Linked DNA regions of Homo sapiens: all the other regions are linked to region 3. Evidence: promoter capture Hi-C in 16 types of primary human blood cells and fetal thymus (Javierre and others, 2016). All regions are on one chromosome and are shown on one strand. Each heading gives the region's core, a stretch centred on a gene start or on the middle of the fragment in contact. The rest is flanking DNA. Distances are from core to core; before and after follow the strand shown.

What was found. The method cuts DNA at HindIII sites, captures the fragments that hold promoters and counts their contacts. A CHiCAGO score of 5 or more calls a contact.
Region 1: a contact is called between a fragment that was not itself captured here and the fragment with the promoter of LIMK1 in region 3, in 6 of 17 cell types (naive B cells, megakaryocytes, neutrophils and 3 more). The highest score is 7.6, in naive B cells.
Region 2: a fragment that was not itself captured here is called in contact with the fragment with the promoter of LIMK1 in region 3 in 10 of 17 cell types (neutrophils, fetal thymus, naive CD8 T cells and 7 more); the score reaches 13.1 in neutrophils.
Region 4: a contact is called between a fragment that was not itself captured here and the fragment with the promoter of LIMK1 in region 3, in 2 of 17 cell types (naive B cells and total B cells). The highest score is 7.9, in naive B cells.

What each region holds. Positions count from the first base shown.
Region 1 is chr7:74,376,879-74,381,684 of GRCh38, forward strand. It overlaps CLIP2 (CAP-Gly domain containing linker protein 2), which reads left to right. Exons shown (of 17, transcript NM_003388.5): 11 at 3,928-3,985. Among named protein-coding and RNA genes, the nearest start is that of GTF2IRD1, 75 kb to the right of the region's middle. RefSeq lists enhancers at 3,422-3,922, 3,923-4,423. The HindIII fragment of the contact is 8,624 bases long and covers 1-4,806 here.
Region 2 is chr7:74,396,899-74,401,989 of GRCh38, forward strand. CLIP2 (CAP-Gly domain containing linker protein 2) reads left to right here. Exons shown (of 17, transcript NM_003388.5): 14 at 176-335; 15 at 3,472-3,657; 16 at 4,607-4,669. Among named protein-coding and RNA genes, the nearest start is that of GTF2IRD1, 54 kb to the right of the region's middle. The HindIII fragment of the contact is 6,759 bases long and covers 1-4,776 here.
Region 3 is chr7:74,080,489-74,085,609 of GRCh38, forward strand. It overlaps LIMK1 (LIM domain kinase 1), which reads left to right and starts at 3,316. Exons shown (of 16, transcript NM_002314.4): 1 at 3,316-3,557. The coding sequence starts at 3,503. RefSeq lists enhancers at 2,016-2,694, 2,690-2,799, 2,695-3,373, 3,860-4,129, 4,641-5,121 and silencers at 3,070-3,339, 3,460-3,509, 3,620-3,669. The HindIII fragment of the contact is 9,779 bases long and covers 1-5,046 here.
Region 4 is chr7:74,416,521-74,421,758 of GRCh38, forward strand. No RefSeq gene overlaps it. Among named protein-coding and RNA genes, the nearest start is that of GTF2IRD1, 35 kb to the right of the region's middle. RefSeq lists a silencer at 976-1,105. The HindIII fragment of the contact is 1,814 bases long and covers 1,601-3,414 here.

The DNA of each region.
Region 1 (4,806 bases), core at 998-3,497, 300 kb after region 3:
TTTTGCTGACCTCTGTTCTGCAGCCCAGGAAGCATTTCCCTTGTCCCCGAGAGCATGCCTGGGGCAGTCAAGGAAGGGGTCACCTGGCTTAGAGGAGGAGGAGCTCCTTGGCCCTCTGTTAGAGGGGCAGTGCGCCCTGGTGACCAGGGAGAACCGAAGCTGGTCTGAGCTGACCTGGCTGCATCCCCCCGCACAGAGCAGACCTGGAGAGATGGGACCTCCGTGCAGAGGACGGGCTTTGATTTACCCATACATGTCTTAGGGTGCAGGGCTCCTAGGACCCGGGACCTCAGACCCTGTGCCCTGGGGCTGGCACAGACCTGAAGGCAAGCTCTGCCTATCCCCCTGGGGGCACCCATCTCCAACTTAGAAGCTCACCTGGGGAATCAGCGGCAGCCCCCTTTCTGCCAGTCCTAATGAGACTTTAGCAACGGTGCCAACGAGTACTTCCCCAGAATGTGGGAGTTCCCGGAGTGGGGTCTGGAAGGCTAGAGGGGGTGGCCCTAAAGAGGTCGCTGTCACCAATGTCAATTTTGCTCCAAATCTAGAAATTCCTTAAGCATCTACCCCTTCTTCCTTCAGCTGAACCCATCCTCCCAGCCCCTCTGAGGAGGTCAACACCCAGGTGGGCTGTGCCCACTCCACCAGGGCCAGGAAGGGCCTTTTGAGTGGCTCTGGGTACCACGTCTTATGCCAGGCCCTATGTGACTCCATTTCACCTTAACATCCTTAGATTGATACTGGCTCCATTTCACAGGTGAGCAAACCAAGACTTTCCCAGGTCCACAGCCTCTCAGTGGCAGAGATGTTCAACCCCATTCCCTGTGGGGCTGACAGAGAGTGCCCAAGACAACAGGAATTAATTCATAGGAGGGATGGCTAGCAACGGACTCTTGCCTGTATACAAATTGTACTCAGAGATTCTTGAGTTTCCAGTTCCCCCACATACATTTTTTTTTTTTTTGAGATGGAGTTTTGCTCTTGTTGCCCAGGCTGGAGTGCAGTGGTGGGATCTCGGCTCACTGCAACCTCCGCCTCCCAGGTTCAAGCAATTCTCCTGTATCAGCCTCCCAAGTAGCTGCAATTACAGGCATGCACCACCACGCCCAGCTAATTCTTATATTTTTAGTAGAGGTGGGGTTTCGCCAGGTAGTCCAGGCTGGTCTCAAACTCCTGACTTCAGGTGATCTGCCCGCCTCGGCCTCCCAAAGTGCTGGGATTACAGGCGTGAGGCACCATCCCTGGCCTTTTTTTTGGTTTTGTTTTTGAGACAGGGTCTTGTTCTGTCTCCCAGGCTGGAGTGCAGTGGCATGATCATGGCTCACTACAGTCTCAACCTCCCAGGCTTGAGCGAGCCTCCCACTTCAGCCTTCCAAGTCGCCAGGACCACAGGTGTGCCCCACCACACCTGGCTAATTTTTATAGTTTTTGTAGAGATGGGGTTTCCTCATGTTGCCCAGGCTGGTCTCAAACTCCTGGGCTCAAGCTGTCTGCCCGCCTTTGCCTCCCAAAGTGCTGGGATTACAGGGAGTAGGTACTGCACCTGACCACCCTCATGTATATTCAAACCAGAATTTAGGGGTGGGTGTGGTGGCTCACACCTATAATTCCAGCATTTCGAGAGGCTGAGGCAGGAGGATTGCTTCAGGCCAGGAGTTTGAGACCAGCCTGGACAACATAGTTAGACCCCATCTCTACAAAAATAAAAAATTAGCCGAGTACAGTGGTAGTGTACCTGTAGTCCCCAGCTACGCTGGAGGCTGAGGCAAGAGGATCACTTGAGCCCAGGTGTTTGAGGCTGCAGTGAGCTATGATTGCACCACTGCACTCCAGCCTGAGTGACAGTGTGAGGCTGTGACTCAAGAAAATACACAAACCAAAAAAACCCGAGAATTTAGCATGTGGGCAGTAAGTTCTCAGGACTAATGAATCCAGGGGGCTTTTTTTGTCTAAAAGGAAATCTTTTTGCATCATGCCTTGAGGTCCCTTGTAATGGCCTTCCTGCCCCTTCTCCCAGGAAGGGATTTTGTTTTTTAGCAAGTGCTCTTCCAGGATCCTGGGCTGAAAGAAAAGGAAGAAACCCAAATTAGCTTACGTGCACATGGCCTGATTAGCTGTTCAGGGCAGGCAGAAACAGCCTGCAACTCAGGAACTGAATTCCCTGAGCGGGGAGGTTTGAGGTTGCTGTGGTTCCACAGAGCATGGGGGACAGAGGCCTGAGGATGCCTCCCCCAGTCCCTGCCCCTCATTCACAGGTGCCCTTGGACCAAGAAGTAGTAGTGGCCCCAGAAAGCCCATCTCCTGGCCGGGCGCGGTGGCTCACACCTGTAATCCCAGCTACTCAGGAGGCTGAGGCACAAGGATTACTTGAACCCGGGACGTGGAGGTTGCAGTGAGCCAAGATCGTGCCACTGCACTCCGGCCTGGGCAACAGAGGGAGACTCCGTCTGGAAAAAAAAAAAAAAGCCCATCTCTTGATTTTCTGTATACACTGGGGCTTAGTCTAAACGCATATGTCCCCATGTTCAGAGGTTTAGGCCTAAGCACAACTGGACTTTTGGTCTCAGGTAGTAAATATGGGAATTTTAAAAATTATTTTAGTGGCCAGGTGCTGTGGCTCACACCTGTAATCCCAGCACTTTGGGATGCCAAGGCAGGTGGATCACCTGAGGTCAGGAGTTTGAGACCAGCCTGGCCAACATGGTGAAAACCCGTCTCTACTAAAAATACAAAAAATTAGCCGGGCATGGTGGCGGGCGCCTGTAGTCCCAGCTACTCGGGAGGCTGAGGCAGGAGAATCGCTTCAGAGTCCTGGAGGCAGAGGTTGCAGTGAGCCGAGATCACGCCACTGCACTCCAGCCTGGGCGACGGAGTGAGACTCCATCTCAAAAAATAATAATAAAAAAACCCCAAAATTAGCTGGGCGTGGTGGTGGGCACCTGTAATCCCAGCTACTCGCTCGGGAGGCCGAGGCAGGAGAATCGCTTGAACCCGGGAGGTGGAGGTTGCAGTGAGCTGAGATTGAGCCATTGCACTCTAGCCTGGATATCAGGGCGAGACTCCTTCTCAAAAAAAAAGAAAAAGAAAAATTTAGTGTGAGCCTCATTACTGCATCGTATATAAATTATGATCCAAGGGGCTTAGTTCATTACAACTAATTGAGACTCAAATGGGACTTGGGATGTATGAACAGAAGTATGAGGGGCAGGATGATAGAGGTGACTGCCTACTCAGCTCTGTGCTTCCCTGATCTGCAGTGCCAGACTCTGGCTGGCTCGGAGGACAGCCAGCCTGGGCAGGAGACTGGAAACTCCTGCCAAGAGTGGCAGGGAGCCTATTGGTTGTGTTTTGACTTTTGTCATAGTGATGTGTGCCAGGCTGATTTTTTTTTTTAATAGGTCTTTTCTTCTTTGGCCTCTGGGTTTATTATTAAAAAGAAATGTTGGAGAGAAAGAAGCTAGCATTTAATGAAGTCCCTCCAGGAGGTGGCCCCAAGCACGCTGTGCACACACTAACCCAAAGCAGCCAATATTTGTTTGATGGATGGGAAACTGAGGCCAGAAGTCTTGTCTCTGGGAGACAGAGAAACAAATTCCCAGGACAAATTTCTGTAGGCATTGCAGGGAAGGAGCCATCTGTTTAATATAATAAACATTTTCAACAAAGGAAGGGTAGGAGGTATTCATGTATAAGCTGCACAGGCGGCCTTCAGCAGAGCTGGGTGCAGAATGGGGGTCCTCTGTTGTCAGGGAGGTCCGACTGAGGACGTCTGCACTCCCTGCCACCGCAGCAAGTCCCTGAGTCCGTCACTGAGGTCCCCCTTTGTAGGAGTAGGGTGTGCAAACTGCAGGTGTGCTTGCTGGGCTGGCTGGGGCTGGGGCCAAGGGGCAGAGGTGAGCATCCCCCTTACAGGGGCTCTTTTTGCAGATGATTGAGTCGAATGACATTTCAGAGGAGACGATCAGGACGAAGGAAACTGTGGAGGGTGAGTGGCCACCAGGCCGGGCGGGACTCTGGGCTCTGGGAAGAGGCTGGCTGGCTCTGCCTTCCTGCTGGGTCACATTTTGGTTTGCATCATCTGCCATTTGGTAAGAGTCACCTCCTGTGTGCTGTGAGCTATGTACTCCTGCAAGGGAGGAGGCCAGTTTACGGAGGGATAGGCATTGCACCAGCCTTCCAAGTTGCTGTCTTTTTTTTCTTTTTCTTTTGAAACAGATTTAACGGAATAGTAAACTTAATGGAATATCAAACCTTATTATTTGTTTGGTTTATATTTTATTTTTATTTATTTATTTAGTTTATACTTTACTTTTATTTATTTATTTATTTTAGACGGAGTTTCGCTCTGTCGCCAGGCTGGAGTACAGTGGTGTGATCTCAGCTCACTGCAACCTCCAACTCCCTGGTTCAAGCGATTCTCCTGCCTCAGCCTCCCGAGTAGCTGGGATTACAGGCATGCACCACCATGCCCAGCTAATTTTTGTATTTTTAGTAGAGACGGGGTTTCACCATGTTGACCAGGGTGGTCTCGATCTCCTGACTGCGTGATCCGCCCGCCTTGGCCTCCCGAAGTGTTGGGATTACAGGCATGAGCCACCGTGCCTAGCTGGTTTAAACTTTAAAAACAGGTCTAAACTTCAAATGGTTCAAAGGGCATATGGCAAACTAACTCTTCACTGTTCTCTATTCTTCCCTCCCTGAAGGCGCAGTGTTAGCTTCTTTATATCCCCTTTCCAGAAATATTTTGTGCAGGTACGAGCAAGCAAGTGACACAAATGGTACCATATCTTCCATTCTTTCAGCTCC
Region 2 (5,091 bases), core at 147-2,646, 310 kb after region 3:
CTCTTGGGCTTTGGTTGAATTGTGTCTACTGTGGCCCCTCGTGGCACAGATGCCATCTAGTAGCCCATGTCCCCCACCAGTTGGTCAGCCCCTGGACACTTGGCAAATTGCTAGAGTGTGGGAGCTGGAGGAGCCAGGGCTGAGTGCAGTGGTTCTGTGCCCGCCTCACCCCCAGGAGCCTGAACGAACTGCGGGTGTTGCTGCTGGAGGCCAATCGTCACTCCCCAGGGCCGGAGAGGGACCTGAGCCGTGAGGTACACAAGGCTGAGTGGCGGATCAAGGAGCAGAAACTCAAGGATGACATCCGGGGCCTGCGTGAAAAGCTGACCGGGCTGGTATGTGGGGTAGGGGTGGCCTAGGGGCAGGGGCACTAGTCCGGGTGGGGCTGGGCTAGCCTTGCTGTCAGGCCATGGAGACTGGAGACCTCCTGGAATGACCCCAGGGACAGCTGAGTCATGGTGAGGATTTGAAATCTTCTAGGACCACAGGCAGGTGGAGGGACCCTGGCTAGCCGCTTTTGCAGACATCATGGCTGCCTATGTGGCAGTCTGTGTGATACGGTGCAAAGGAAAACTTCCTATCTGACCTGTCCAGAGGCAGGATGAGCCAATACAGGTAAAGAGCTCCCTGTTCAGAGGAGTAATCAACCACAAGCCAGTTCCTTGCTCAGGGTCCTGCAGTGGGGCTTCACACATCAGTCTCAGGAAGGAGACAAGAACTTGAAAGTCTACAGCAAGCCTGGGATTCTGGGTGGCTGAGTTTTTTTTGTTTTTTTTTTTTTTTTTTGAGACAGAGTCTCGCTCTGTTGCCCAGGCTGGAGTGCAGTGGCGCGATCTCAGCTCACTGTAAGCTCTGCCTCCCTGGTTCACACCATTCTCCTGCCTCAGCCTCCCAAGTAGCTGGGACTACAGGCACCCGCCACCACGCCTGGCTAATTTTTTTGTATTTTTAGTAGAGACAGGGTTTCACCGTGTTAGGCAGGATGGTCTCGAACTCCTGACCTTGTGATCCTCCTGCCTCGGCCTCCCAAAGTGGTGGGATTACAGGTGTCAGCCACTGCGCCCGGTCGAGATTTCTTTTCTATTATGAATAGGAACCTGACTTCACTGAGTCTGCAGAGACGGGTTGGGGTAGGCAGGTGATGCTGGTAGCATAGCACAGGACCATCCCCATCCCTTGGCCAGGCGCAATGGCTCACACCTGTAATCCCAGCACTTTGGGAGGCTGAGGCAGGCGGATCACTTGAGGTCAAGAGTACGAGACCAGCCTGGCCAACATGGCGAAACCCCATCTCTGCTAAAAATACAAAAATTAGCCGGGCATGGTGGAGTGTGCCTGTAATCCCAGCTACTTGGGAGGTTGAGGCAGGAGAATCACTTGAACCCAGGAGGCGGAGGTTGGAGTGAGCTGAGATTGCGCCACTGCACTGCAGCCTGGGCGACAGAGTGAGACTTTGTCTCAAAAAAAAAAGAATAAAGAAACCACCCCATCCCCATCCCATCCTCCTGTGATGAGCACTCAGGACAAGCCTGAGCCTGGTGAACGTCACGATATGGAGGGCGTGGGGTCCAGGAGGACAGGCCCTTGCCTGGGAAAGCTGTCCTGAAGCCCCCCACCACCCTCCTGCCCAGACATTGGGCTCAGCCACTGTAGAGGTGATGGAAGGAGAGCAGGGCCCAGCCCTGGGCAAGGGGGTGGTTCACAGGCTGGAGGGAGGGCCTCAGCGCCACCGACCCCCTATATCCGGGAGTAGGCCCTTGGCCCTCAGGGTTCCGGGATAAAGAGCATCACTCTGGCCACACACCCAGACTGTGGCTGTGGGGGTCACTGAGTCCTGCCGGCCTTCAAGTCCTGGCCTATCTGGCTAGCAGGGGTTGGTGGCTGCACCCTCTGTGGTCCCTGTGGCTCAACAGAAGATAAGCCCCTGGGGTTGGCACGGACTGGGGAGTCTTGAATACCCCCAGGGGCTTCCCTAGAGCCTTGTAGGAGTGCGCAGTGCTGAGCTCAGACTGGTGCCCATGGGGCACAGATTGGTCAAGTTTACTTGGGAAGTGGCGGCCTCTGCCCCAGGGTAGCCTCTTGTCTCATCATCTCCCTGCACTGTGTCCACGGGAGAACTTGGGAAGCCTTGGTGTGTGGGTAGAAGCCTCTTGATTTCAGGATGGAGGTTCTGTTGGGAGGTGGTTTGGAGGGTCAGAGCAGGCAGGACTGGGCAGTGCTGAAGGATGGAGTTTGTGCAGGAGCGAGGAGGCTGGCGGGCCTTGGGGCAGGTACAGCTCTGGGTGCCATGGTGGGGGTGACTATGGAGAGGAGGAACCTCATAAGACAGTTGGGTGGGGGCAGTGTAAGAAGAAGGGTGCTGGGTGCGGTGGCTCATGCCTATAATCCCACTGCTTTGGGAGGCCAAGTTGGGAGGATGGCTTGAGGTCAGGAGTTCGAGACCAGCCTGGACCTCATAACAAGACCGCATCTCTACAAAAAAAGTTAAAAATTAGCCAAGTGTGGTTGCATGCCCTGCAGTATCAGCTACTCGGGAGGCTGAGGTGGGAGGATCACTTGAGCCCAGGAATTGGAGGCTGTAATGAGCTGTGATTGCACCACTGCACTCCAGCCTGCACAATAGAGTGAGACTCAGTCTTTTTTTGGGGGGGGGGGGGTGGGGACCAAGTCTCACTCTGTCGCCCAGGCTGGAGTGCAGTGGCATGATCTTGGCTCACTGCAACCTCCACCTCCCGGGTTCAAGCGATTCTCCTGCCTAGGCCTCCAGAGTAGCTGGGACTACAGATGTGAGCCACCACACCCTGCTAATTTTTGTACTTTTAGTAGAAATGGGGTTTTACCATGTTGACCAGGCTGGTCTCGAACTCCTGACCTCAGGTGATCTGCCTGCCTCGGCCTCCCAAAGTGCTGGGATTACAGGCGTGAGCCACCAGGCTCGGTCTCTGTCTCTTTTTTTAATTATTTTTAAAGGCAAGGCTGGGCGCAGTGGCTCATGCCTGTAATCCCAGCACTTTGGGAAGCCGAGGCGGGTGGATCACGAGGTCAGGAGATTGAGACCATCCTGGCTAACACGGTGAAACCACGTCTCTACTAAAAATAGGAAAAAATTAGCGGGGCGTGGTGGTGGGCCCCTCCCAGCTACTCAGGAGGCTGAGGCAGGAGAATGGCATGAACCCGGGAGGCGGAGCTTGCAGAGACCCAAGATCGCGCCACTGCACTCCAGCCTAGGTGATAGAGCGAGACTCTGTCTCAAAAAAAAAAAAAAAAAAAAAGTCAAGAGGGATGGGGTCCTGGGTTCCCCACTTGGAGACCATGGAGCACCTCACAGAGGCCTGAGGGACCTCTGGGTGATGCCCAGGCTTGGAACCCAGAGACAAAGTGAGGCTGGAAGACTTTCCTGCCTAGAGTTGAGACGCCCACCAACACACACACGCACACTCATGTACTCTTCCACTCTCCTGCCACTTCCAGGACAAAGAGAAATCCCTGTCGGATCAGAGGCGCTACTCCCTCATCGACCGGTCCTCGGCGCCCGAGCTTCTGCGGCTGCAGCACCAGCTGATGAGCACGGAGGACGCCCTGCGGGATGCGCTGGACCAGGCTCAGCAGGTGGAGAAGCTGATGGAGGCCATGAGGAGCTGCCCTGACAAGGCCCAGGTGAGCCGCGGCTGACAGGGCCCACCAGGAGGCAAGCCACGGGGCAGTGTCCTCGGAGCCCCCGTCTGATGCGGGAGGCAGCCTTGTCTTTAAAACCCCAGTCTGAGGAGGTAGGGAGCTCGTCCCAGGAACCTGGTCTGAAGGGGGAGGTAGCCCTGTCCCAGAAACCCTGGTTTGAAGAAGGAGGCAGCTCTGTCCTGGGAACCCCAGTCTGAAGGGGGAGGCAGCCCTGTCTCAGGAACCCGGGTCTGAATGGGGAGGTAGCTCTGTCCCGGGAACCCCTGGTCTGAAGGGGGAGGCAGCTCTGTCCCAGGAACCCTGATGTGAAGGGGGAGGCAGCTCTGTCCCAGAAGCCCCCGGTCTGAAGGGGGAGGTAGCTCTGTCCCGGGAACCCTAGTCTGAAGGGGGAGGCATTTCTGTCCTAGGAACCTTGATCTGAAGGGAGAGGCAGCTCTGTCCTGGGAACCCTAGTCTGAAAGGGAAGGCATCTCTGTCCCGGGAACCTTGATCTGAAGAGGGAGGCAGCTCTGTCCCGGAACCCTGGTCTGAAGGGGGAGGCAGCTCTGTCCCGGGAACCCTGGTCTGAAGGGGGAGGTGGCGCTGTCCCAGGAACCTCCATCAGAAATGGGAGGCAGCCCTGGCCCAGGAACCCTGATCTAAAGCGGGAGGCAGCTCTGTCCTGGGAACCCAGCTGAAAGGGGAGGGAGCCCTGCCCTCTGGAACCCCCAGTTCAAGGGGCACATGGCTTTGCCCTGAGGAGCTTAGACTAAGAAGGAAGATGCAGCCTTACCCCTAGAGGCTTGGTCTTTGGGGGTGCTGGGAGCCCCAGGCTGAAGGGGTTGGAATTTGGAGCCTGAGACGGTCCCATGGGAAGACCTCGCCATCTAGTGGGAAAATCGGGAACTGCTGCCTGGTGCACCTGGCTCAGTGTCTCCCCTAACTCTTCCAGACCATCGGCAATTCCGGTTCTGCAAACGGCATCCACCAGCAGGACAAAGCTCAGAAACAAGAGGTGAGGGGCGCCTCGGGCCTCCCAGGTCCCTCCCGTGCAGGCAGACCTCTCTGGAGAAAATCCTTGAAACGTCACTAAGAATACACACAAAGATGCATTCTGCAAGAAGCTTTACAGTAGGGTCCCTCAGGGAGGGTGCTGTTGCAGGCAAACTTGATTCCAGATTCACCCTGCTCTTTTTGATTTGTGTTTTCTTCCCTTCTTAAAAAAGTTATAGGTTGGGCGCAGTGGCCCACGCCTGTAACCCCAGCACTTTGGGAGGCCAAGGCAGGAGGATCATTTGAGCCCAGGAGTTTGAGACCAGCCTGGCCAATATGGTAAAACTCCGTCTCTACTGAAAATACAAAATTAGCCGGGTAGGGTGGACAATATAGCGAGACCCTCTCTCTATTAAAAAAAAAAAATTTTAAAAAGGCTGGGCA
Region 3 (5,121 bases), core at 2,066-4,565:
TCAAAATAAATAAATAAATAAATAAATATAAATAAAAAGCAAAAATCCTTTTTGCTTTCAGCAAAAAAAATCTTGCATGAGCAATGTAACTGAATATGTCAGATCTGATGTTTCACCTGGAACTGTGGCTGACAAGGAGCTCCTACAAGGTGTGGAAGTGCCAGCTCCATCTTTTCGCTCATCTGGGTGTGTTAGCATCTTCTTTTTTTTTTTTTTTGTTTATTTGTTTGAGACAGGCTGTACAATGGCATGATCAGAGCTCACTAGAGCCTCCAAATCCTGGACTCAAGCGATCCTCCCGTCTCAGCCTCCTGAGTAGCTGTGACTACAGGTGCACACCACCACTCCCAGATAATTTTTTTTTTTCCGAAGAGATGTGAGGGGGTCTCACTATGTTGCCCAGGCTGGTCTTGAACTCCTGACCTCAAGCGATCCTCCCAGTTCAGCCTCCCAAAGTGCTGGGATTACAGGTATAAGCCACTGCACCCAGTCTGCATCATCTTCAATCTGTGCTTTCTTTTTTTTTTTTTGAGATGGAGTCTTGCTCTGTCACCAGGCTGGGGTGCAGTGGCGCAATCTCGGCTCACCGCAACCTCCAACTCCCTGGTTCAAGCGATTTTCCTGCCTCAGCCTCCCAAGTAGCTGGGATTGCAGGCACGTACCACCATGCCCAGCTAATTTTTGTATTTTTAGTAGAGACGGGGTTTCACCATGTTGGCCAGGATGGTCTCGATCTCCTGACCTCACGATCCACCCGCCTCAGCCTCTCAAAGTGCTGGGATTACAGGTGTGAGCCACCACGCCAGGCCCAATCTGTGCTTTCTTTGCAGGAATTGTTTTCAACTATGAGTCCATTCTGTGAGGGTTAATTTAGTCAAAACTGGATAACATCACTCAACCAAGCTGGCTCAGGCTCACAGCCCCTCCAGGCCACTATGCACTTCTCTGCCCTGCACTGTGGGCACAGCATCAACATGGCCCTGCCCGCTGCATCCAGACGGGATTGGTTAACGGGAGGCAATGGAAGAATAAGAAGAGCAGGGGAGTCAGATCAGAATAGCCCTTCTGGGCCCTCTTCCCCATGAGTCCCCCAGAACTGGGGACCCCTCTTGCACAGCTCCTCTCAGGCAGGCCTCTCCTCCAGGGACCCCCTCTATGCCCCCTTACCCTGGGCTGGTAACTGCTGCCACCCCTCCAACTGTGCCAGTCCTTACTGATCTCCTTTAATCCCCCCTCCCCAGTGCATTGCAAACATCCCCTTTATCAAACTCTCCCCAGTTAGCCCCACTAAGTGGCACTTTCTGTTTCCAGCCAGGGTCCTGCCTGGTATATGCCCTACAGCCAAGTTACAAGGCTCTCATTCCCCTCTCTTTCCTTCCCCTTTTTTTCCCTCCCTATCTTTTTTGACAGGGTCTCTGTCACCCAGGCTAGAGTGCAATGGTGCAATCATAGCTCACTGCAGCCTCAACCTCCTGAGGTCAAGTATCCTCCCACCTCAGCCTCCCAAGTAACTAACTACAGGCATGAGCCACCATGCCTGGCTAATTAAAAAAAAAAAAAAAAGTCTGGGCGCGGTGGCTCACGCCTGTAATCCCAGCACTTTGGGAGGCCAAGGTGGGTGGATCACCTGAGGTCCAGAATTCGAGACCAGCCTGACCAACATGGAGAAACCCCGTCTCTATTAAAAATACAAAATTAGCCAGGTATGGTGGTGCATGCCTATAATCCCAGCTATTCCAGAGGCTGAGGCAGGAGAATGGCTTGAACCCGGGAGGTGGAGGTTGCTGTGAGCTGAGATCGCACCATTGCACTCCAGCCTGGGCAACAAGAGTGAAACTCCATTTCAAAAAAAAAAAAAGTTAGAAGAGACAGGGTTTCACTTCATTGCTTAAGCTGATCTCCAATTCCTGGCCCCACGTGATGCTCCCACCTTGGCCTCCCAAAGTGCTGGGATTATAGGTGTGAGCCACTGTGCCCAGCCTTCTTTCTCATGAGAAATTAAAAATTCTGGCCAGGCGTGGTGGCTCACACCTGTAATCCCAGCACTTTGGGAAGCCGAGGAGGGTGGATCACCTGAGGTCAGGAGTTCAGGACCAGCCTGGTCAACATGGTGAAACCTCATCTCTACTAAAAATACAAAAATTAGTCGGTCATGGTGGTGCACGCCTGTAATATCAGCTACTCGGGAGGCTAAGGTGGGAGAATTGCTTGAACCTGGGAGGTGGAGACTGCGGTGAGCCGAGATCCCGCCACTGCACTCCAGCCTAGGCAACAGAGCGAGACCGAATCTAAAAAAAGAAAAAAAAAATCTAGTATTTTCTTCCCACCCCACGTAATTGTTTTGCACCCAGGGGTGAGTGCCCCCCACTTTGCAGACGTGCCTAGACCTCTCCCCACAAACATGATGACTAGAGTTGGAGCTGGGCTAGCGCTGCCTCTTGTTCACTGGGTTCACGTGGGCACGTGGCTCCACTCCGGTCACTGCTTCCTGGGCAGAGGGATGACGTGGAAGGTAGACCTAGGGGGGACAGGGTTGCTTCCTGCCCATGTCCAGCATTCTAGAATTGTCCACATCTAGGCAGGGCGTTCCACCATCAGTGCTGGACTGGACCACCCAATTCCTTTGGACGCTTGACTCAGCCCAAACCCGTGCTCCCTCCAGGACCCTGGGCAGGGCAGCCCCAGCTCCAGGTAATCGGCACTGAGAAGAGTACACCTGTCACCGCCTGGCAGGGGCTCGCTCCTTTCTCTGGTGCTGCTCATTCGCGAGGCCTGAGACGCGGACCGTCACCTTCCCCGGGCCCAGCCTGGCCTCAATGCAGGCCTCAGAGAGAGGGACAAAACCCGGCCCGCCTCCCTCCCCTCCCCAAGGCGACCACCAGTGTCCTGGGGGTCCACAGGGCCTCTCCAGCTCTGATCCGAGTTCCCGGCTGCAGCTGGTTTGGGTCTGTGGGGGCCTCGCGCAGGGAAGCGGAGGCCCCTTCTCTAGGCTCCTACATCCTCCTGGCCTGCCCCAGCAGAGCTAGCGGCCCTCCGAGACAGCTGGGCCTCGCAGCTCCCAGCCGAGGCCTGTCGCTGGGAGAAAGAAGAATGAATGAAGGGCGGAAGGGGCGGGGAGGGGCGGGGCGCGCCGCGCCAGCTCGCGGCGCCCCCAGGCCGGGCCGCAGCGGGGCGTGGCCTCTAGAGGCGTGGCCTTGGGCGTGGGGGCGGGGTTTTCTGGTGGGGGCGGGGCCGCGCAGGGCCGTTCCCGCCGCCGGCCGCCCGCGCCCCGCCCCCGTGCCGCAGCTCACAGGCCCCGCCTCGGTCCGCCCCTCCGCTCGCTCCCCAAGCCGCCGCGGCGCCGAGCCGGTTTCCCCGCCGGTGTCCGAGAGGCGCCCCCGGCCCGGCCCGGCCCGGCCCGCGCCCTCCGCCCCCGCCTCCCCGGGCCGGCGGCGGTGGGCGAGCTCGCGGGCCCGGCCGCCCCCAGCCCCAGCCCCGCCGGGCCCCGCCCCCCGTCGAGTGCATGAGGTTGACGCTACTTTGTTGCACCTGGAGGGAAGAACGTATGGGAGAGGAAGGTGCGCGGGCCGCGGGGTGTGGGGCGAGGGCCTGGAGGGGGTGCCCGGGGCAGCGTGGGGCACGGGAGGGGGCCGGGTCTGCCAGGAGGCCGCGCCCCTGCCTCCTCCGGGATGAGCTCGTCCTTACGAAGCCCGCAGGCCCCTCCCTGTCCCCCTCCCGCCCGGGATCCCCCTCCCCGGCCCCCGGCGAGCTGCCCTCCTGCGGGTCTGGGGGCCCCTGGACCCTTTTTCCTCCTCCCACGTCCCCCCGCGAAGGACTCCCAGACACTGCCCACCCCGCGTCGGCCTCCATCCGCGTGCTCTGTCCACCACCCGGGCCTCGCCCTGGGGCCACCCTTTATCCAGTCTCGGAAGAAAGAGCGGCTGGGGAAGCCGCAGCCCCGGGTCCCAGTGGCCGCCGGGCGCCTGCCCGGCTCTGTGACCTTGAGCCAGGCGCTGACTTCCTGGTCCTCAGTTTCCCCTTCTGTACATTTGGAAACTGGGTAGTTGCCCCCCCGGTGTCGGTGATTGGGGGCCAGATGGGTAGAGCGGAGATAGGCGTCCAGGAAGCCGGAGGCCGTGTACTGCGGGAGCCTCATCCACTCTCCCTGTCCGTGCCCCAAACCCGGTGCCTGCCCTCAGTCTTGGCTGGGAGCATGACTCATCCTAACCTCCTCTTTAGCCCCTTCTCCCTCACTGGGGCCCAAGGCGCAGTACTGCACTGCAGTTAGGGTTCAAGGACTCCCCCAGCCTAGGACAGGGTCTGGGGGCCCCTCCTTGGATCTCCTTCGCTGACCTGTCACTTAGATCCACCTGGCCCCAAGGCAGGGCCTGACTCCACACCTCCCCCTGCCACCAACTCTTCCCAGGCCCATGAAAACCTGATTGGGGTAGGGGCCCACCTTCCTGTAGCCCCTGCCTACCTAAGGTACCTGCGTCTTCACAGAGGGTCAGGCTGTTGTGGCCTTGGGACCTAGCTATGTGACTGGGCAAGCCATGCCATCTCTGGGGCTCAGTCTCCCCTTCTGTACAGTGGAGAGGGGCAGGTCTGGGGCATTTTCCAGGGCCCACCAGCTCCAAGGGTGCCAGGCCCCAAGGATGACTAAGCATGCCTGTGGCTGGCTAGAGGAGGTGCCAGGCCTCCCTGGGACAGGTGTCTGGGAGTACCCAGGTCTGCAGCCCCCTCCCCTTGCCAAGCCAGGGCATTCATTGCCAAGGATCTGTTAGGGCCGGCACCTCCAGGCTTCCTGCCCTTGACCTCCCAGCTGGCTTCAGCCCAGGATGCACTAATCCAGCCCTGTCCAGTCCCTGCCTTTGAAGGGCCCTCTTAGTACTTCTTCCTGGGCAGGAGAGGGAAGAAAGGAGGCTGTGATAGGAATGTCACCCACTGCCTTATCCCTAAAGCCACTGCTTCCTTTCTCCTCATTTACCTTGCCAGATCCAATGCTATAGCGGGAGGATGGACCTGATCCTCCTCCTAAGCTGATACATAGGGAAACAGGGCCAGAGAAGCTTGGCAACCTAGTCAGTATCTCAGCAAGACTCAGGCCAGCGCCCTTTCTTCTCCTATTTGGCACAGCGACTG
Region 4 (5,238 bases), core at 1,258-3,757, 340 kb after region 3:
CTGTGGCCCTGGGCAGAGCCCTTCCCTCCCCAGCTTCAGTTTTCTCATCTATAAAGTGGTAACATAAGCCCCAGGCAGGGGTCACAGCTGAACATCTTGGGAATCATGGTTTGGGTAGGGGTTGGGGGGACATCCTTCTCTGGGTCACTCCTGGGATGTGGCCCTGGGTCCAGCTTTGGGAAAATTAAATAAAGCTTGGAGCATCAGTGTTTTGGGGGTGGGGATTGAACCAGTGTGGTCTGAAGCAGGGGGCGGGGTGTCCTCATGACCCTTCCGCCCCAAGGTTCACAGTACTGGCCTTTGGAAGGCATCTCCATGGCATGGGGTTATGGCGACAACCACTGCTGCAACCCTCCCCCTCCAACACAGTGTCTGTCTCATGTTGAGGGAAGCTCAGAAACCGGGACTTCTAGGCCAGGCGCGGTGGCTCACGCCTGTAATCCCAGCACTTTGGGAGGCCGAGGAGGGCAGATCACCTGAGGTCAGGAATTTGAGACCAGCCTGGCCAACATGGTGAAACCCTGTCTCTACTAAACATACAAAAATTAGCCAGGCACAGTGGCTCATGCCTGTAATTCCAGCACTTTGGGAGGCCAAGGCAGGCAGATCATTTGAGGTCAGGAGTTCTAGACCAGCCTGGCTAACAGGGTGAAAACCCATCTCTACTAAAAATACAAAAATTAGCCGGGCGTGGCGGCAGGCGCCTGTAATCCCAGCTACTTGGTTGGCTGAGGCAGGAGAATGGCTTGAGCCCAGGAGGCGGAGGTTGCAGTGAGCCCCGCTGCACTCCAGCCTGGATGACAGAGCAAGACCCCGTCTCAAAAAAATAAACTGGGACTTCTCTTGCCCCACTTCTCTTTGCTCTGCCTGAGAGGGAGACATTGATCAAACCCTCCAGGTCTGATCGGGAAACATTTGCCTTCTCCTTTTGTGGGGTCCTGGGGTGAAGAACAGGAGGGGAGGCTGGAGGGTGGGTGACACCACGCACCCCTGGGCGGCAAGAGACCCACCAGCCAAGTCTTGCCTGTGATGCCTCCCATTTACCAGCAGGTGTCACCCTCGGCCCTCTCACTGCGGCTTGTCCATTCCACCCTCTGTCCAGACTGGGCTTTAGGGCTGCAAGGCTGGAGACACAGGCCAGCTTTGCACGTGGGAGCAACAACGGGGACCCAGGTGTCCCGGCTCCTAGTCCCAGAGCTCCCTGTCCCTGTTGCCTCCCAGACTTGGTTCAGGCCTCTCTGTGAGTATCCGTGTGTGTCCACACTTCCATCCCTGGGAGAGAGGCCGGCCAGGGCGTGGACATTCATTCCCTCTCTGGGACCGTGCCGGGCCAGGACTGTCCTGGCCTCCCTCCTCCCGCACAGCACTGCCTCCCCTCCCCGCAGGCTGGGCTCCCTCCACAGAGCTGACCCTGGCCTACTTTCTCAGTCCTGAACCCTCCCATCACGTCCCCCTTGCCAACCTCAGCTGGGCAGTCACCCTGGTCCCGCTCCCACTCCCCAAGAGAGGCTGGGAAGTGTTTTGAGACTGAAGTTGGGGTCCAGTGTAAATTCAGAAGGAACATGGTATAGGACGAATAACCAGGATGCTCACTTCTAGAAGCTTCTCTGGAACCTTGGGTAAGGCTGTGGGCCCTTTCTCTGGAGCTACCAGCAAAGGGAAGGACTTGCTGCCTCCAGGGTGGCTCCAGCCCCGTCTAGACCCCCTCCCAGCCACCCTCTCCCGCTGCCACAATTTCCAGCTGGCCCCACGCACAGCTGTGCCTCGGTTTCCCAGCAGCCCCAAGCCTGGAGTTCACCAGGAGCACCTTCACAGCCCCGCACCGGGTCCGCAGCCTGGGGTCCATCATATTCATCACACTCTGGGCCCTGTCCCCCACCCCCAGCTCAGGCCTCAGATCCTGCCTCCAACCCCACACCCCCAGGCCTTTCCAAGTGACCCACACACATGCATGGGCACACACACACAGATACATACACACATACACAGAGACACACATACATGTACACATCATATATATATACACGCACACAGAGACACATATAAACATGCACACACGTACACACATACATGTACACACGTACACACATGCATACACATATACATACACAAACACATACATACACAAACACTATAGACACGTACACAGACACACACAAATACGTACACATACACAAAAACTCATACACATACACAAACACGTACATACACAGACACACAAACACTACAGACACATGTACACACGGACAAATACACATACACACAGACACACATACATGTACACATATACACATGTACACAGGTACACACGCACATACACACGTTACACACAAAGAGATGTATACTCACATACACAAACATGCACATATATACACACAAACAATATACATACACATACACATACACACACGCATATACATGCATATACATCCACACTTGTGCACACATACACACATGCACACACACACACTTTTTCTTCACGGCCTGCAGAGACGCGCCCATCGGGGACTTGATTCACACCTCTCTCCCTAGAGGGGAGTGCTCTGTGTGCACCGCAACATATCTCTAACCTCTTTTTTTAAATTGACAAAAATTGTATCTATTTATGGTGTGCAATATGATGTTTTGAAATATGTATAAAGTGTGGACCAGCTACATCAAGCTAATTAGCATATGCATTACCTCATTTGTCTTTTTGTGGGGAGTGTGCTGAGAACGCTTAAAATCCACTGTCTTGGTACTTTGCAAGTTTAGAACACATTGTTATCAAGGATAGCCACCATGTTGTACTTGGATCTCTTGAACTTAGTCCTCCTAACTGAAATTTTTGTGTGTTTTTTTCCTTGTGTGTGTGTGACAGAGTCTCACTCTGTTGCCCAGGCTGGAGTGCAGTGGTGCAATCAGCTCACTGCAGCCTTCATCTCTGGGCTCAAGCCGTCCTCCTGCCTCAGCCTTCCAAGTAGCTGGGACTACAGGTGTGCACCACCATGCCCAGCTAATTGTTTGTATTTTTAGAGAGATGGGGTTTTGCCATGTTGCCCAGGCTGGTCTCGAACTCTTGGGCTCAAACGATTGGCCTGTCTCAGCCTCCTAGATTGCTGGGATTACAGGCATGAGCCACCACTGCCACCCCCACATCTCTGACTCTCAGCCCAGGGCGTGGCACACAGGTGCCCACGAGTGGCTGTCAGACGGATTGATCAATTCCACCACTGCACAAACTTCCATCTTCAATCTTGCACTCCACCTCAACTGCTCTCCCAGAGCTCCAGACACTGCCAGGTTGCCCCCGCATCCTGACAAACTGTCCTCTTTCTGTACCCTTTCCAAGTCATCTAATTGTCCTCATTTTTGTTTTTTTTTTTTTTTTTTTGTAATTTGAGTTTATTTGACCATCTTGATCCGAAATGTTCAAGCTTTTGGCTATAGTTTTCTTCATTTATTTATTCAATATTTTTTAGTAACTCTATTAATTAATTGATTTCCTTCCTTCCTTCCCTCCCTCCCTCCTTCCCTCCCTCCCTCCTTCCCTCCCTCCCTCCTTCTCTTCTTCCTTCCCTCCTCCCTCCCTGCCTCCTTCCTTTCTGCCCACCCACTTTCTTTCTTTCCTTCTTTCTTTCTTTTTCTTTCTTTCCTTTCTTTCTTTCTTTTTTCTTTCTTTTTCTTTCCTTCCTTCTTTCTTTCTCTTTCTTCTTTCTCTTTCTTTCTCTCTTTCTCTCTCTTTCTTTCTTTCTCTTTCCTCCCTTCCTTTATCTCTTTTTCTTTCTTTCTTTTTCCTTCTTTATTTTGAAGTGGAGTCCCGCTCTGTCACCCAAGCTGGAGTGCAGTGGCGCAATCTCTGTTCACTGCAACCTCTGCTTCCCGTGTTCAAGCGATTCTCCTGCCTCAGCCTCCCAAGTAGCTGGGATTACAGGCATGCGCCACCACGCCCAGCTAATTTTGTATTTTTAGTAGAGTCAGGGTTTCACCATGTTGGTTAGGCTGGTCTCAACTCCTAACCTCAGGTGATCCACCCAGAATTGTTTTCTTTAAAACAACTTTTCTGTACTGGACATGGTGGCTCACACCTGTAATCTGGCACTTTGGGAGGTCGAGGCGGGAGGATTGCTTGAGCTTAGGAGTTCGAGACCAGCCTGGGCAACATGGTGAAACCCCAGGCATGGCGGCACATGTCTGTAATCCCAGCTACTGGGGAGGCTGACGTGGGAGGATCACCTGAGTCCAGGAGGCCGAGGCTGCAGTGAGCCATGATCATGCCACTGCCCTCCAGCCTGGATGACAGAGCGAGACCCTGTCTCAAATAAATAAATAATAAATAAATAAATAAAGCTGTTTTTCTTTCTTTCTTTCTTTCTTTCTTTCTTTCTTTCTTTCTTTCTTTCTTTCTTTCGTTTGTTCTTTCTTTCCTTCCTTCTTTCTTTCTTTTATTTCAGTCCTCTTTACTTGAAAGTTTATCTCTTGTTCAGAAAATAAATATGGGCCAGGTGCGGTGGCTCATGCCTGTAATCCTAGCACTCTGGGAGGCTGAAGCAGGAGGCTCACTTGAGCCCAGGAGCTGGAGATCAGTCTGGGCAACATAGTGAGACACTGTATCTTTTTGGGGATTTTTTGGACAGAGTCTTGCTCTGTCGCCAGGCTGGAGTGCAGTGGCGTGACCTTGGCCCTCGGCTCACTGCAACCTCTGCCTCCTGAGATCAACTGATTCTCCTGCCTCAGCCTCCTGAGTAGCTGGGACTACAGGTGTGCGCCACCACACCCAGCTAATTTTTTTGTATTTTTAGTAGAGACAGGGTTTCACCATGTTGGCCAAGATGGTCTCAATCCCTTGACCTCGTGATCCCCCTGTCTCGGCCTCCCAAAGTGCTGGGATTACAGGCACGAGCCATCACGCCCTGCCTGACCCCCAGTATCTTCTTAAAGAAAAAAGAAGAAAAGAAAAGAAACAAGATATTCTTTCTCCCTAATGCCAGTTCTTCATCTGCGGTCCCCTTCTCTGCACCGTCTCTCTGTCTCCTGGGTGGTCATCTCCATCTTCTCAGACTTACGTCTTTAATGTTTGTATTTTTAATCTTTTAATCCCAGACCTGAGGCATTGATCATCTATCTTCTTAAATCACATTTATTTTGTCACTTTATCATTATTTTAAACCTCTTAACTTTTATCTCTTGTGGAGAGTAACTTTTAAGACCAACTTCATAGCTTTTCATTTTAATTTTGTATTTGCTGATTTTAACTTT